Regions from separate parts of the Homo sapiens genome. Here region 2 is linked to region 1. Evidence: promoter capture Hi-C in human tissues and cell types (Jung and others, 2019). All regions are on one chromosome and are shown on one strand. The core of a region is centred on a gene start or on the middle of the fragment in contact, and the rest is flanking DNA. Distances in the headings are between cores, read along the strand shown. Region 1 holds the start of SLC6A12 (solute carrier family 6 member 12). Region 2 overlaps SLC6A13 (solute carrier family 6 member 13).

Region 1 (6,587 bases), core at 2,891-5,390:
TGTAGAGGGGCTTGCAGGCCTGGCTTGGATCCTGGCCCTTTGACTTACTAACTGTGTGACCTTAGGCAAGCTAACCTCTCTGATCCTTAGTTTTCTCTTCCATAAAACAGGAATACTGCTACTTACATCAGTGTTGTTAGAGTCCAGCAGATGCTATAGGGACAGCTGCCCTGGGGACACATTCAGTCAAACCCATCCTATTTCCCATAGCTGCAGCCCCACCACATCGGACTGTCAGCATCACAGAAAAGTTCAGGAAGAGTTTAGAGATATCCTTGCTGTCCCCAGTCTCAGACTAGGTTGCACTGGGCTCCAGGAAGGAGGCTACACATTTATTGAGCTAAGCATTTTTTTTTTTTTTGAGACGGAGTCTCGCTCTGTCGCCCGGGCTGGAGTGCAGCGGCACCATCTCAGCTCACTGCAAGCTCCGCCTCCCGGGTTCACGCCATTCTCCTGCCTCAGCCTCCCGAGTAGCTGGGACTACAGGTGCCCACCAACACGCCCAGCTGATTTTTTCTATTTTTTAGTAGAGATGGGGTTTCACCGTGTTAGCCAGGATGGTCTCGATCTCCTGACCTTGTGATCTGCCCGCCTCGGCCTCCCAAAGTGCTGGGATTACAGGCGTGAGCCACCGCGTCCGGCCGAGCTAAGCATTTTCACTAGAAGGCAAGGAAGACGTAGTCCTAAAATAATCCTGGTCCTGTGGCCTGAGGGTGCTACTCCACACTCTTCACCAAGTGACAACACAGAGCAGTACTGTCCAAGATAAGCAGGACCTGAGTCATCTGAGCCCTCTGATTCTGGGGAAACAATGTCCTCCCAGAAAAGGGAAAACTGTAATCATTTTTCCCCCTTCAAGTTCCATTCATCCACTCGTTCATCCATCCATCCGTCCATCCTCCATCCATCCATCCATCCATCCGTCTGTCCATCCATCCATCCGTCTGTCCATCCATCCATCCATCCATCCATCCATCCATCCATCCATCCGTCCATCCATCTGTCCATCCATCCGTCTGTCCATCCATCCATCCATCCATCCATCCATCCATCCATCTGTCCATCCATCCATCCATCCATCCATCCTCCATCCAATGAACACTGAGTGCCTATTCTGAGGCAGAATTGTATTAAATGCTAGAGGCAGAAATAAAGAATTATGAAATGAGACCCCTGACATATAGATATTCATGGTCAGGGGAACAGTATGCTTCAGTGGAACAAGCATAGATTTTTGGAGCCAAGAGGCCCAGGTTCAAATCCCAGCACCATCACTTACTTGTGTGTGGCCTTAGGACAAATCACTTAGCTTCTATTTATTCACCCCAGTTTCCCGTCTGTAAAATGGGGCTAATAATTTTTACATTTCAAAGTTCTTAAGGGGATGAAATGAAGTAACATGTAAAACTCCTCGTCCGAGTTAGATGCTCAGGAAATAAGTCCTATTCCAGGCCCTCTGAAAGTATGGATGAGATTAGAAGATGAGGGTGGTGAGAACATTCTGTGGTGGCCAGTGGTTCCTACTGCAGCAAAGGTGATAGATTCATTCAGCTACCTGTCGTCTTCACCCTGCACACTCCTCAGTGTGGAAACAGCCCAGTCTCAGCTAGGCTTTCCAGGATGCCTACCTTTTGCAAAGATGAGAGTCTCTGGCCTCCAGGAGTTTACTAACCAGTCTGAATACCAAGTGGGTCTTGGAGGCTAGGAGAACTTGAGTGAGGAAGGGCTCAACATTAGAGAGTCTCTGGCCTCCAGGGGTTTACTAACCAGTCTGAACACCAAGTGGGTCTTGGAGGCTAGGAGAACTTGAGTGAGGAAGGGCTCAACATTAGAGAGTCTCTGGCCTCCAGAAGTTTACTAACTGGTCTGAATACCAAGTGGGTCTTGGAGGCTAGGAGAACTTGAGTGAGGAAGGGCTCAACATTAGAGAGTCTCTGGCCTCCAGGGGTTTACTAACCGGTCTGAACACCAAGTGGGTCTTGGAGGCTAGGAGAACTTGAGTGAGGAAGGGCTCAACATTAGAGAGTCTCTGGCCTCCAGAAGTTTACTAACCAGTCTGAATACCAAGTGGGTCTTGGAGGCTAGGAGAACTTGAGTGAGGAAGGGCTCAACATTAGAGAGTCTCTGGCCTCCAGAAGTTTACTAACTGGTCTGAATACCAAGTGGGTCTTGGAGGCTAGGAGAACTTGAGTGAGGAAGGGCTCAACATTAGAGAGTCTCTGGCCTCCAGAAGTTTACTAACTGGTCTGAATACCAAGTGGGTCTTGGAGGCTAGGAAAACTTGAGTGAGGAAGGGCTCAACATTAAGATGGTGGGACTAAGGCCAGAGGCAGTCAGATAAAAACAGGGAGGGACCAGGTAGCTCTTTTGGGGGAAAGTCAAACTGTACCCCCTGGGCCAGGTCAACCAGGCAGCTGTTCTCTGACAAGGTGAAGGAGAGGTGACAGGACTGCTGGGCTGTTGCTGTTCATCCTCACAGAAAGCATGTCACACTGTATGTGCTAAATATAATTTTTGAGGGAACCAACAAGGAAATTCACCATCTTGGCTTGTCTGATCCTCTCCCCTCTTTCTCCTTTTTATGGAGAGGCTGGTGTTTTGTTCTGGAGTAGCTGTAGCTAGGTGATCACATGGACTTTGATGTCCCCTCTGCAATAACTCTGTGGTCAATCCATGGTGGACCTGACATGCAGGGACAGGCCACACCTGAGCACCGGGGTAGCTCAAGTATGGATTCTGGCTGGGCCATGTCCTACTGTGCCACAGCTGACCCCCAGCCCGGCTTCTGCTTTCATAGAGGCAATGGGTCTGAGAGCTGAGACCTGCTCTGCCTTCCTCTTCATGTGGAACCCCACAGGAGAGGCTGAGAGGGGCCCGAGAGACATATCGTGGGGGTGCTTGATGGAAAACTACAGACTGAGAGTCTCACTTCACACCCCACCCCTGCTGGGAAGTTCTAAAATACACAGAGGAAGCACATGTAAAAGGAAATTTCCCTTTCTCCCTGCAACTTCCTCTCCCTTCATACCACCTAGAGCTGAAGAAGCACCTCCTTTGTCTTGAAGGAGGCACCAGCTATTCTGAATGAAGGGCGGTGGGACAGTGCTGTACCCCACACCAGGTGGGCGTGCTCAGGGACAGTGACCAGGACGCTGTTCTGGAGGAGCTCACTGGGCACACGGCATAGGGCACATGTATTCAAAAAATACCCTTCCCCATTGATAGCTGGCAGGCCACTCCAGACAAATTCTAGCTAGGTGCCTGGTGCTATGCAGTGACCAGAGGTGCCTGGGACCAGACACCCCACCATCCCAGCCTCTGCTTCCAGAGGACACACAACAAACACCCACACCTCCCCTTAAGCACCTATGATATCCCTGCACCCTCACAGCAACCCCGCAAAGTAGATATTGTGTTGTTACCTACCTTTGACAGACTGGGAAACCAAGGCTGACCCTTGCCTAGCTGTCGTGACTGATACATGATAGAGGAGGAGAAGAAACTCAGGTCTGTCTGGTCCCAATCCTGGGTCCTCTCTACATTGCTTCTTGAGGTACGCTCTGGGTGCTTTCTCTAGGAAAATCCCAAGGAGAAGGGTTGTGAAGGTCCAGGGCCTTGCCTAGAAGCCACAGAGGGCAGGTACTTGGTGGAAAACTCCAGCGTGTGATTCACCCTCCTCCCTTGCCCTCGTCAGTGAGGTCACCTCCCCTCCCAAGGTTCTCAGTTTATAGCCTGGAGTCTCTGGTAAGAGAGGGCTGTCCCCTGTGCTGCACATACCCGTCTCCTCATCCCTGGGAAGGAGATGGTTCTGGAGGGGGATAGGGGAAAAGGGGGAAGGGGGAAGGGCAAGGAGGAGGAGGAGGGGAGATGAGGTCAGGGTGTGAGTCTCTGAGCCCCTTCCCCTGCCCAAGGGAGCAGCAGCTCAGCCCAGCTCTGGAGGGGCCATCATGGGACTGTGCCCACGGGGAGGGCACCGGTCTGGAGACAGTGGGTTCACAGTGGGAGTGGGATGGGGGTGGGAGCGCTGGGGACAGAGGACTTGACTTCCTGAGGTTGGATGTTGTAATCTCGGTTCACAAACTTTTGGCCTCAGTCCCTCCTGCTGCTCCTGGTATTTCTCTGTCCTTTCACTCCCCAACACACACAGCCCCCGCCCCAACACATACACACACGGCTTCTTTCTGTCTGGGAGTCCCTGGACAAGTCACATGGGATTCTGCGCTGGGAGGAACAGGGTAAGGCGTGAACGTGGAGGGCAGTTTCCCTTTCAGGTCCCGGCTCTCTTGGCTTTCCCATAAGCAGCTGCCTTGGGACTCTCCTGGAGACCTGATGCCCACAGCCAAGCTGACCACAGGAGCCGGTGCTGGGGACTGAGGTGAGCGGGAAGTGGAGGGGCTGGCTCTGTCTTTGCAGTCTCCAACTGCTGCTCAGAGGGGCTGGAGGGATAGAGCCCTGGGAAGCGAGACTCTGTGGAACTGCGTGTCTGCAGCGGGGGGCAGGACCTGCAATAACCTCAGGCCAAAGGGCAAGTCTGATGCCCACGACTCTCAGGACAAGGGGTGCCCCCTAGCTCCGCCCCATCCAGCGTGGGAGCAGCTCAGTGATTAGCCTGTGGAGCAGGAAAGTCCAGCGATGGGCAGCTGGTCACGGCAGTGGGTGAAAGCAGGGGTGGTCATCTGACGAGGGGAGGGGAAGCAGGTGGTGCCCAGCAAGGTGGAAGGAGAAGTGGACAGGAGAAACCTCGGGGCATTCCCGAGGGCCCAGGAACTGCAATAAATGATCACAGGTGAGGGGTTCCTGCCCGCTGCCTGCCGGCTGAGCGTGACGAGCTGGGTGCCAGGCGCCTCCCAGGAGGAAGCTGTCTTGGCTTTGGGCGGTGGATGCTATGGGTGTGCTTGTACCCGAGGGGGGCACTCAGGGGAGTTGCAGGCAGCCACCAGCTGAGACCGGCACTCACGGGGTGTGAAGGACTACAGAGAGAGCCAGGTTTTGGTGCCATGCACACAGGTATGTGTGTGCGAAGGGACGTGACGGGAAATGGCACCAGTGTGTGTATGGGAATGGGTGTTGGTATGTGGGTGTGGACTGAAGCAGGGGCTGGGTGTCCCATCCCCCCGTGTGCAGGGTCTGAGCTATTCCTATGCTGGACTGGGGAGCAAAGGGGACAGAGCTGGGATCCCAGCAGCACATGGGCAGCAGCATTTCTGGTCTCGTCTGCACCTCTGCTAGCCCCAGCTGGGCCTCTGGCGACATGCCCAGCTCCTGAAAACAGACTTAACTTTGGACTTTCTAGTCTCTTGAAGATTTGCTCTCTGGGCAGCACCAAGCCCGGTGTGGAAATTGGTGTGTTTGCTTCTGGAGGGCACTGAAGTATGATGAGGCCCATCCCCCACCCCTCACCCCCCTGTCCCGGCTTAGCAAAGCAGGTGGGCGGCCTTGGAGGAGACTCGAGGGGCTGGAGAGGCGGCCAGCCGAAGCTGGAGGTGGAAGGGCACAGCGGGGGTGGGGTGTGTAGTCCTTTGCCTTTTAAAAGTAGCCCAGAAAGGAGAACTCAGTACAGCTTGTTTTGGTGTCTAACATCCTCTGGGCCATTTCTTCCCTGAGTCTAACTTAAATCCCTCTTGCTGCAGTTTAAGCGTGTTCCCTCTTGAGTTACCACGGCTCGGGGCCAGCTGTCCTTTTCACTTGCTCTTGCTTTCATTCTGCCGTTCTGGATTTTCATTCTGAACCACAAGTTACGCTCCTCCCGATTACTTTTTTATTTTCATTTTTATTTTTAAAAAATCATGTTGCGTCAGTGTCGGTTCACCAGCTCATGTTCTCTTTTTGCACTTCCCCTATTTCTGATGAAACCCAAATCCTGGGCCCAAACTGGATTCTGTGATTCGCTTCCCTGCCCCTGCGCCCCTCCGGCTTTCCCTTCATTTACTCCTTCCCCCAGCAAGCCTCCACTCTCCCAGCCCTTGAGACCACCTTGGTCCTGCCACAGCTGCCTGTGGTCTGGAAACAGTAAGGCTCATTTCTGACCACCGCCCTAAGGGCCCTTGTGCTTGGGGCTCGCCCTGGGATTAGCAACGCTATGGCCCGCGAGTAGAGGCGGTCAGTTCTCCGTCTCTTTATTGAGTCTTGTTTTTATCCCCTCACCCTCCGAAAACCCCTTTGAGCAGTGGTCTTTCTCTCTTCCAGGGAAACTTAGAGTTCAGAGAGGGGGTGTGATTTGCCTGAGGTCACACAGCAAGTTAGAGACCCAGCTCCACGACTCATTGTCTTGGTAAGTGTATTCTAGCATTGAGAACAGTGTCCCCCAGGCGCTGCAGGTGCCAGGCACTGTTCCTTAATCTCTTGGAGCTTCACTTCCTCACACATAAAGTGGAGCTAATAGTGACACCTAACTTCAGAGATTCTTAGGAGGATGCACTTCAATAATACGTAGAAAGAGTGCCTGTCTTTAACATACTGCTGACTCAGATGTCAACCTGTTGTTATTATCATTAACAGCTAGATCTGGATTAGAACTTGGGTTTCCTATCTGGTGCATTTTCATGCGTGTTTTCAAGCTCGCTCACTAGTTTGTTAATTTATTTGGT
Region 2 (6,587 bases), core at 2,078-4,577, 34 kb before region 1:
GTAGCTGCGACTATAGGCATGTGCCACCATGCCCGGAAAATTAAAAACTTTTTTTTTTTTTGGTAGAGACGAGGTCTCACTATGTTGCCTAGGCTGATCTCAAACTCCTGGGCTCAAGCGATCCTCCAGCCTTGGCCTCCCAAAGTGCTGGGATTACAGGCGTGAGCCACTGCACCTGGACTGTTTTTCCTGTTTCTAACAGTGTCTTTAGAAGAGAAGGCGTTTTAAATTTTTATGATGTCTGGTTTATAAATTATTTATTTTATAAACCATACTTTTGATATCATATAAAGAGATCTTTGCCTAACCCAAGGCCTCATATTTTCTTCTAGAAGATGTATAGTTTTAGGTTTGACATTTAGCTCTATGTTTCATTTTGGCTTAATTTTTGTATACAGTGAAGATATGGGTTGAAGTTCATTTCTGGGGGGTTGTATGGGTATTCACTTATGCCAGCACCATTTGTTGAAAAGACTATCCTATTTCCAATGAATTGCCTTTATACCTTCATCAAAAATGAGTTATTTGTATATATGTGGGTCTGTTGATGAATTCTACTCTGTTCCATTGATCTGTTTATTTTGACACCAGTACCACACTGTGTTCATTACTGTGCTTGAGGATAATATAAATACCAGGTGGAATTAAGTACTTCAGTTCTTCTTTTTCAAAGGTTTTTTTTTTTTGTTTTTTTTTGAGACAGAGTCTTGCTCTGTTGCCCAGGCTGGAGTGCAGTGGCGCGATCTCAGCTCATTGCAAGCTCCGCCTCCCGGGTTCACGCAATTCTCCTGCCTCAGCCTCGCGAGTAGCTGGGACTACAGGTGCCCACCACCATGCCCGGCTAATTTTTTGTATTTTTAGTAGAGACAGGGTTTCACCGTGTTGGCCAGGATGGTCTCGATCTCCTGACCTCGTGATCCACCCACCTTGGCCTCCCAGAATGCTCCCAAAATGCCTCCCAAAAAGAAATGAGCCACTGCGCCAGGCCCTGTTTTTAGGTTTTTTTTTTTTTTTTTTTGGGGGGCTATTTTGGGTCCTTATCATTTCCAGATGAATTTTAGAAAGAATTTGTGAATTTCTACAAAAAAGTCTGTTGTGCTTTTGATTAGGATTGTATTAAATCTATAGATCAATTTGGAAAGAATTGACATTTTAATGATATTAAGTCTTCTGATCCTGAATATGGTATGACTCTCCATTTATTTAGCTCTTCATTAATTTCTCTCAGCAATGTTTTGTAGTTGTGAGTGTACATATATCTTTCACAACTTTTGTCAGATTTATTCCTAAGTATTTAATATTTTTGATGCTATTGTAAATGGTATTATTTCCTACATTTTAATTTATGGTTGTTTATTCCTAATACATACACAATTGATTTGTGTATGCCCATCCTGTATCCTGCAAACTTGCTAAACTCACTGATTGGTTCTAATAGGTTTTTTTTTGTGTGCATTCCAAAGGATTTTCATTGTAGAATATCATGTCTTCTGAGAATAAAGCAGTGTTATTTTTTCCTTTTAAATCGGAATAACCTTTAATTCCTTATCTTGCCTTATTGGCTAGATTCTATGGCTAGAATCCCCAGTACAGTATTGAATAGAAGTAGTAAGAATAGACACTTGTTTTATTCTCAATCTTAGCAGTCTTTTACAATTAAGTATGATGTTAGCTGTAGGGTTTTTTTGTAGATGCCCTCTATCAAGTTGAGGAAGTTCTCTTCTCCTCATCATTGCTGGGAGTTTTTATTAGGAATGACTGTTGGATTCAGTCAAATACTTTACTGTACCTATGAAATGATCATATAGTTTTTCTTTTGTAATTTGTTAACAGGATGAGTCACATTATTTATTTATCCATTTATTATAACAGCTGGAGACTACAACACTATGTTGATTTTTTAAAATGTTAAACCCACTTTGTATCTCTGGGATAAACATTACTATATAATATATTGTCCTATTAACATATTGTTAGATTTGATTTCCTAAAATCATTTAGAATTTTGGCATTTATGTTCATGAAATATGTTGATCTTTAACTTTCTTTTCTTATAATGTATTTGTCTGCTTTTATTATCAGGGTAATGCTCACTTTATAAAATTGGTTGGGTAAGCATTCCATCTTTTCAATTTTTTGGAAGAGTTTGTGTAGAATTGCTGTTATTTCTTCCTTAAATATTTGGAGGATTCACCACTGAAGTCATTTGAGCCTGGAAATTTTTGTGGGATGGGTTTAAACCAAAAATGAATTTTCCTTAATAGTTATAGGGCTATTCAGACTGTTTCTTTTTGAGTGGGCTTTGGTAGTTACGTTTTTTATTTTACCTAAATTGTTGCACTTACTGGCATAAAGTTCTTCATATCTTTTCTTATTATTGTTTTAATATCTATAGAATCTTTACTGAGGATACATCTCATTTGTCATGCTGATAATTTGTGTCTTCTAAAATTTTATCAATTTTATTATCTCAAAGAACCAGCTTTTGGTTCATGGATTTTCTCTGTTGCTTTCCTGTTTTCCATTTTATTGATTTCCACTCTGATTTTTATTTCCTTTGACTTACTTTGGCTTTCATTTGCTCTTATCCTTCTCATTTCTTTCTTTCTTTTTTTCTTAACTACACCCTCATTTCAGCAATAATTTCTGATTTCTTAAGGTGGAAGCCGAGGTAATTGATTTGAAACTTTTCTTCTTTTATCATTTAGTAAATCTCCTAGGTACTGCTTTAGCAGTATGCCACAAATTATGATACTGGGTTTCATTTCATTCCATTCAAGATACTTTCTAATTTCTCTTTTGATTACTTCAGTAGAGCCATAGGCTATTTAGAAATGTGTTACCTAATTTCCAAATAGGTGGCAATTTTCCAAATGTCTTTCTCTGATAGATTTCTAATTTAGTCAGAGAACCAATTTTGTATTACTTGGATGCTTTTAAACTTACTGAGATTTGATCTCTGGTCCAGGATATGGGCCCATCTTGGTGGAATATTCCATGTTCATTTGAAACTAATGCATATTCTGCTGTTGGACTGTTGGGTAGAATGTTCAATAAATGTCAACTAAGTTGAGCTGGTGGATATAATTTTCAAATCTGTTATATCCATACTGATTTTCTGTATACTTATTCTATAAATTATTGAGAGAGGGCTATTAACGTTTTTAACATTTATCAGGAATTAGTTTATATGTTTCTCTTTGTAGTTCTGTCAGTTTTTGCTTCGTGCATTTTGAAGCTCTGTCATTAGGTGAATATGCACTTGAAATACTGATTGATTAATTGACCCTCTTGATTAATTGACCCTTTAATCATTATGAAATTACCTTCTTTACCCTTGGTAATATTCTTTGCTCTGAAGTTTACTTTGTGTGACATTAAGATAAACTTTACAGATTTATTTTGAGTAGTGTTAGCATGGTATATCTTTTTTTTTTTTTTTTTTTTTCCGAGACGGAGTCTTGCTGTCGCCTAGGCTGGAGTGCAGTGGTGCAACCTCGGCTCACTGCATGCTCCGCCCCCCGGGGTTCACTCCATTTCTCCTGCCTCAGCCTCCCAGCATGGTATATCTTTCTATCCTTTTACTTTTAACCTCTTCATGTCTTTTTTATTCAAAGTGCATTTTCTTAAGGCAGCATATAGTTGAGTCTTGTCAGGTTTTAAAAGCCAGTCTAACAATCTCTGCCTTTTATTTGGGACGTTTAGACCATTTGCATTTAATACGATTATCCATGTAATTAGGTTTAACTCTATCATCCTATTATTTGTTTTCTCTTTGTCCTATCAGTTATTTGTTTCCCCCTTCCCTCTCCTCCTGCTTTTTTTTTGGAATAATTGAATATTTTTTCTTATTCCATTGTTAGCTTTCTTCTTTTTGTTGGCTTATTAGCTGTAACTTTGTTGTGTTATTTTACTGATTGTTTTAAACTTTGTAGTATACATCTTTAACTTATCACACTTTATCTTCAAGTGATAATGTACCACTTTATATATAAGAACCTTAAAATATTACAATTTCATTTCTTTCCTCCTAACCTTTGTGCTCTTCTTATACATTTTTATATGTTATAAAATCAATATTACATTGTTTTTATTTTTGTTTAACCAGTCAATTATCTTTTAAAAAATATTTGAATAATAAGAAAAACATTCTCTATGTTTATCTATGTAATTACTATTTCTAAAGCTTTTTATTACTTTGTATAGATTCATATTTCTATCTGGTGATATCATTTCATTCTCCCTGAAGGAGTTTCTTCCACATTTCTGGTAGTTCAGTTCTACTTGTGGTAGATCCTTTCAGGTTTTGCATGTCTTAAGAAACAGTTATTTCACTTTCCTTTTTGAACAGTATTATTGCTGGGTATAGAATTCCGGGTTGACAGCTTTCTCCCTCCTCCTTTATTGCTTCAGCAAATGTGCTTCCTTATCACTGTCTTCTCTTTTGCATTGTTTTAAATGAGAAATTTGATGTTATTCTTATCTTTGTCTGTACATATGTGTCGTTTTTCTCTGGTGACTTTTAAGGTTTTCTCTTAAAAGCTCCATATTCCGGTTTAAGTAATGTGATTATGATGCACCTTGGACTAGTTTTTTTTCATTTTTTTTTTAATCTTGGTGTTTGTTGAACTTTTTGGATCTATAGGTTTATAGTTTTCATAAAATTTGTAAAATTTTCAGCTATTATTTCTGTAAGCTTTTTCTCACCCTTTTCTTTCTTTCACAGACTCCCATTACATTAGGCTTTTTGAAGCTGTCTCACCACTTAGGCATACCTGTTCTTTTTAAAAAATTTCTTTTTTCTTTTCTTTCTTTCTTTTCTTTCTTTCTTTTTTTTTTTTTTTGAGATGGAGTCTCACTCTGTCACCCAGGCTGGAGTGCAGTGGTATGATCTCAGCTCACTGCAACCTCCACCTCCCAGGTTCAAGTGATTCTCCTGCCTCAGCCTCCCAAGTAGCTGGAATTACAGGCATGCACCACCACACCCAGCTAATTTTTGTACTTTTAGTAGAGACAGGGTTTCACCATGTTGGCTGGGCTGGTCTTGAACTCCTGACCTCAGGTGATCCACCTGCCTCGGCTTCCCAAAATGCGGGGATTACAGGCATGAACTACCATGCCCAGCAAAAATGTTCTTTTTTCTCTCTGTGTTTTATTTTAGATAGTTTCTATTATGGTTCAAGGTCACTGATCTTTTCTTCTGCTCTGCCTACTAACATTAATCCCATCCAATGTATTTCTTTAAATCTCACACACTGTAGTGTTCATGTTCAGAAGTTTTATTTGGGTCTTTTTCAATATCTTTTATATCCCTAACTTTTGGAACACTTGCAATACAGTTATAATAACTTTTAAATATTCTCATCTGCTAATTCTAACATCTTTGTAAATTATGGGTCAGGTTCAATCTCCTTGCTATGAGTAACATTTTCCTGATTCTTTGCTTTCCTGGTAATTTTCGATTGAATACCAGACCTGGTAATATTTTTGCTTTATGGGTTGCTGGATAATTTATTTATTTATTTATTTATTTTTGAGACAGAGTCTCACTCTGTTGCCAGGCTGGAGTGCAGTGGAGCGATCTCGGTTCACTGCAACCTCCATCTCCCGGGTTCAAGCAATTCTCCTGGTTCAGCCTCCCAAGTAGCTGGGACCACAGGCACATGCCACCATGCCCAGCTAATTTTTGTATTTTATTTATTTATTTATTTATTTATTTTTACTTTTATTTTTTGAGATGGAGTCTTGCTCTGTCACCCAGGCTGGATTGCAGTGGCACAATCTCGGCTCACTGCAACCTCCGCCTCCTGGGTTCACGCCATTCTCCTTCCTCAGCCTCCCAAGTAGCTGGGACTATAGGCACCCACCACCACACCCGGCTAATTTTTTTGTATTTTTAGTAGAGATGGGGTTTCACTGTGTTAGCCAGGATGGTCTCGATCTCCTGACCTCATGATCCACCTGCCTCAGCCTCCCAAAGTGCTGGGATTACAGGCTTGAGCCACCGCGCCCAGCTAATTTTTGTATTTTTACTAGAGATGGGGTTTCACCATGTTGGCCAGGATGGTCTCGATCTCTTGACCTCGTGATCTGCCTGCCTTGGCCTCCCAGAGTGCTGGGATTACAGGCGTAATCCACCACACCCTGCCTTTTCTTTCTTTCTTTTTTTTTTGCGACAGAGTCCCACTCTGTTGCCCAGGCTGGAGTGCAGTGGCACGATCTCGGCTCACTGCAACCTCTGCCTCCCAGGTTCAAGCAATTCTCCTGCCTCAGCCTCCCAAGTAGCTGGAGCTACAGGTGCGTGCCACCATGCCAGGCTAATTTTTGTATTTTTAGTAGAGACAGGATTTCACTATATTGGCCAGGCTGGTCTTGAACTCCTGACTTGGTGATCTGTCCACCTCAGCCTCCCGAAGTGCTGGGATTACAGACGTGAGCCACTGCACCCGGCCAATTTCGTATTTCTGTAAATATTCTTTAGCTCTGTTCTGGGATCAGTGAAGTTACTTGCTCTTTTTATATCTTGCTTTTAAGATTGGTTAGGTAGCAATAGAAGTGTGCTCGGTCTAGGGATAATTATTCCCCGT

Evidence for each region. Contacts are between HindIII fragments. The study calls those that stand out against the background at their distance.
Region 2: a contact is called between a fragment that was not itself captured here and the fragment with the promoter of SLC6A12 in region 1, in 6 of the 25 tissues and cell types used here (H1 embryonic stem cells, IMR-90 fibroblasts, dorsolateral prefrontal cortex and 3 more).

Annotation. Positions count from the first base shown.
Region 1 is chr12:211,710-218,296 of GRCh38, reverse strand. It overlaps SLC6A12 (solute carrier family 6 member 12), which reads left to right and starts at 4,140. Exons shown (of 16, transcript NM_001122848.3): 1 at 4,140-4,375; 2 at 6,187-6,271. RefSeq lists enhancers at 4,259-5,030, 5,742-5,791, 5,803-6,575. The HindIII fragment of the contact is 37,462 bases long and covers 1-6,587 here.
Region 2 is chr12:245,265-251,851 of GRCh38, reverse strand. The region is part of intron 2 of SLC6A13 (solute carrier family 6 member 13); the gene reads left to right. Among named protein-coding and RNA genes, the nearest start is that of SLC6A13, 14 kb to the left of the region's middle. The HindIII fragment of the contact is 4,795 bases long and covers 930-5,724 here.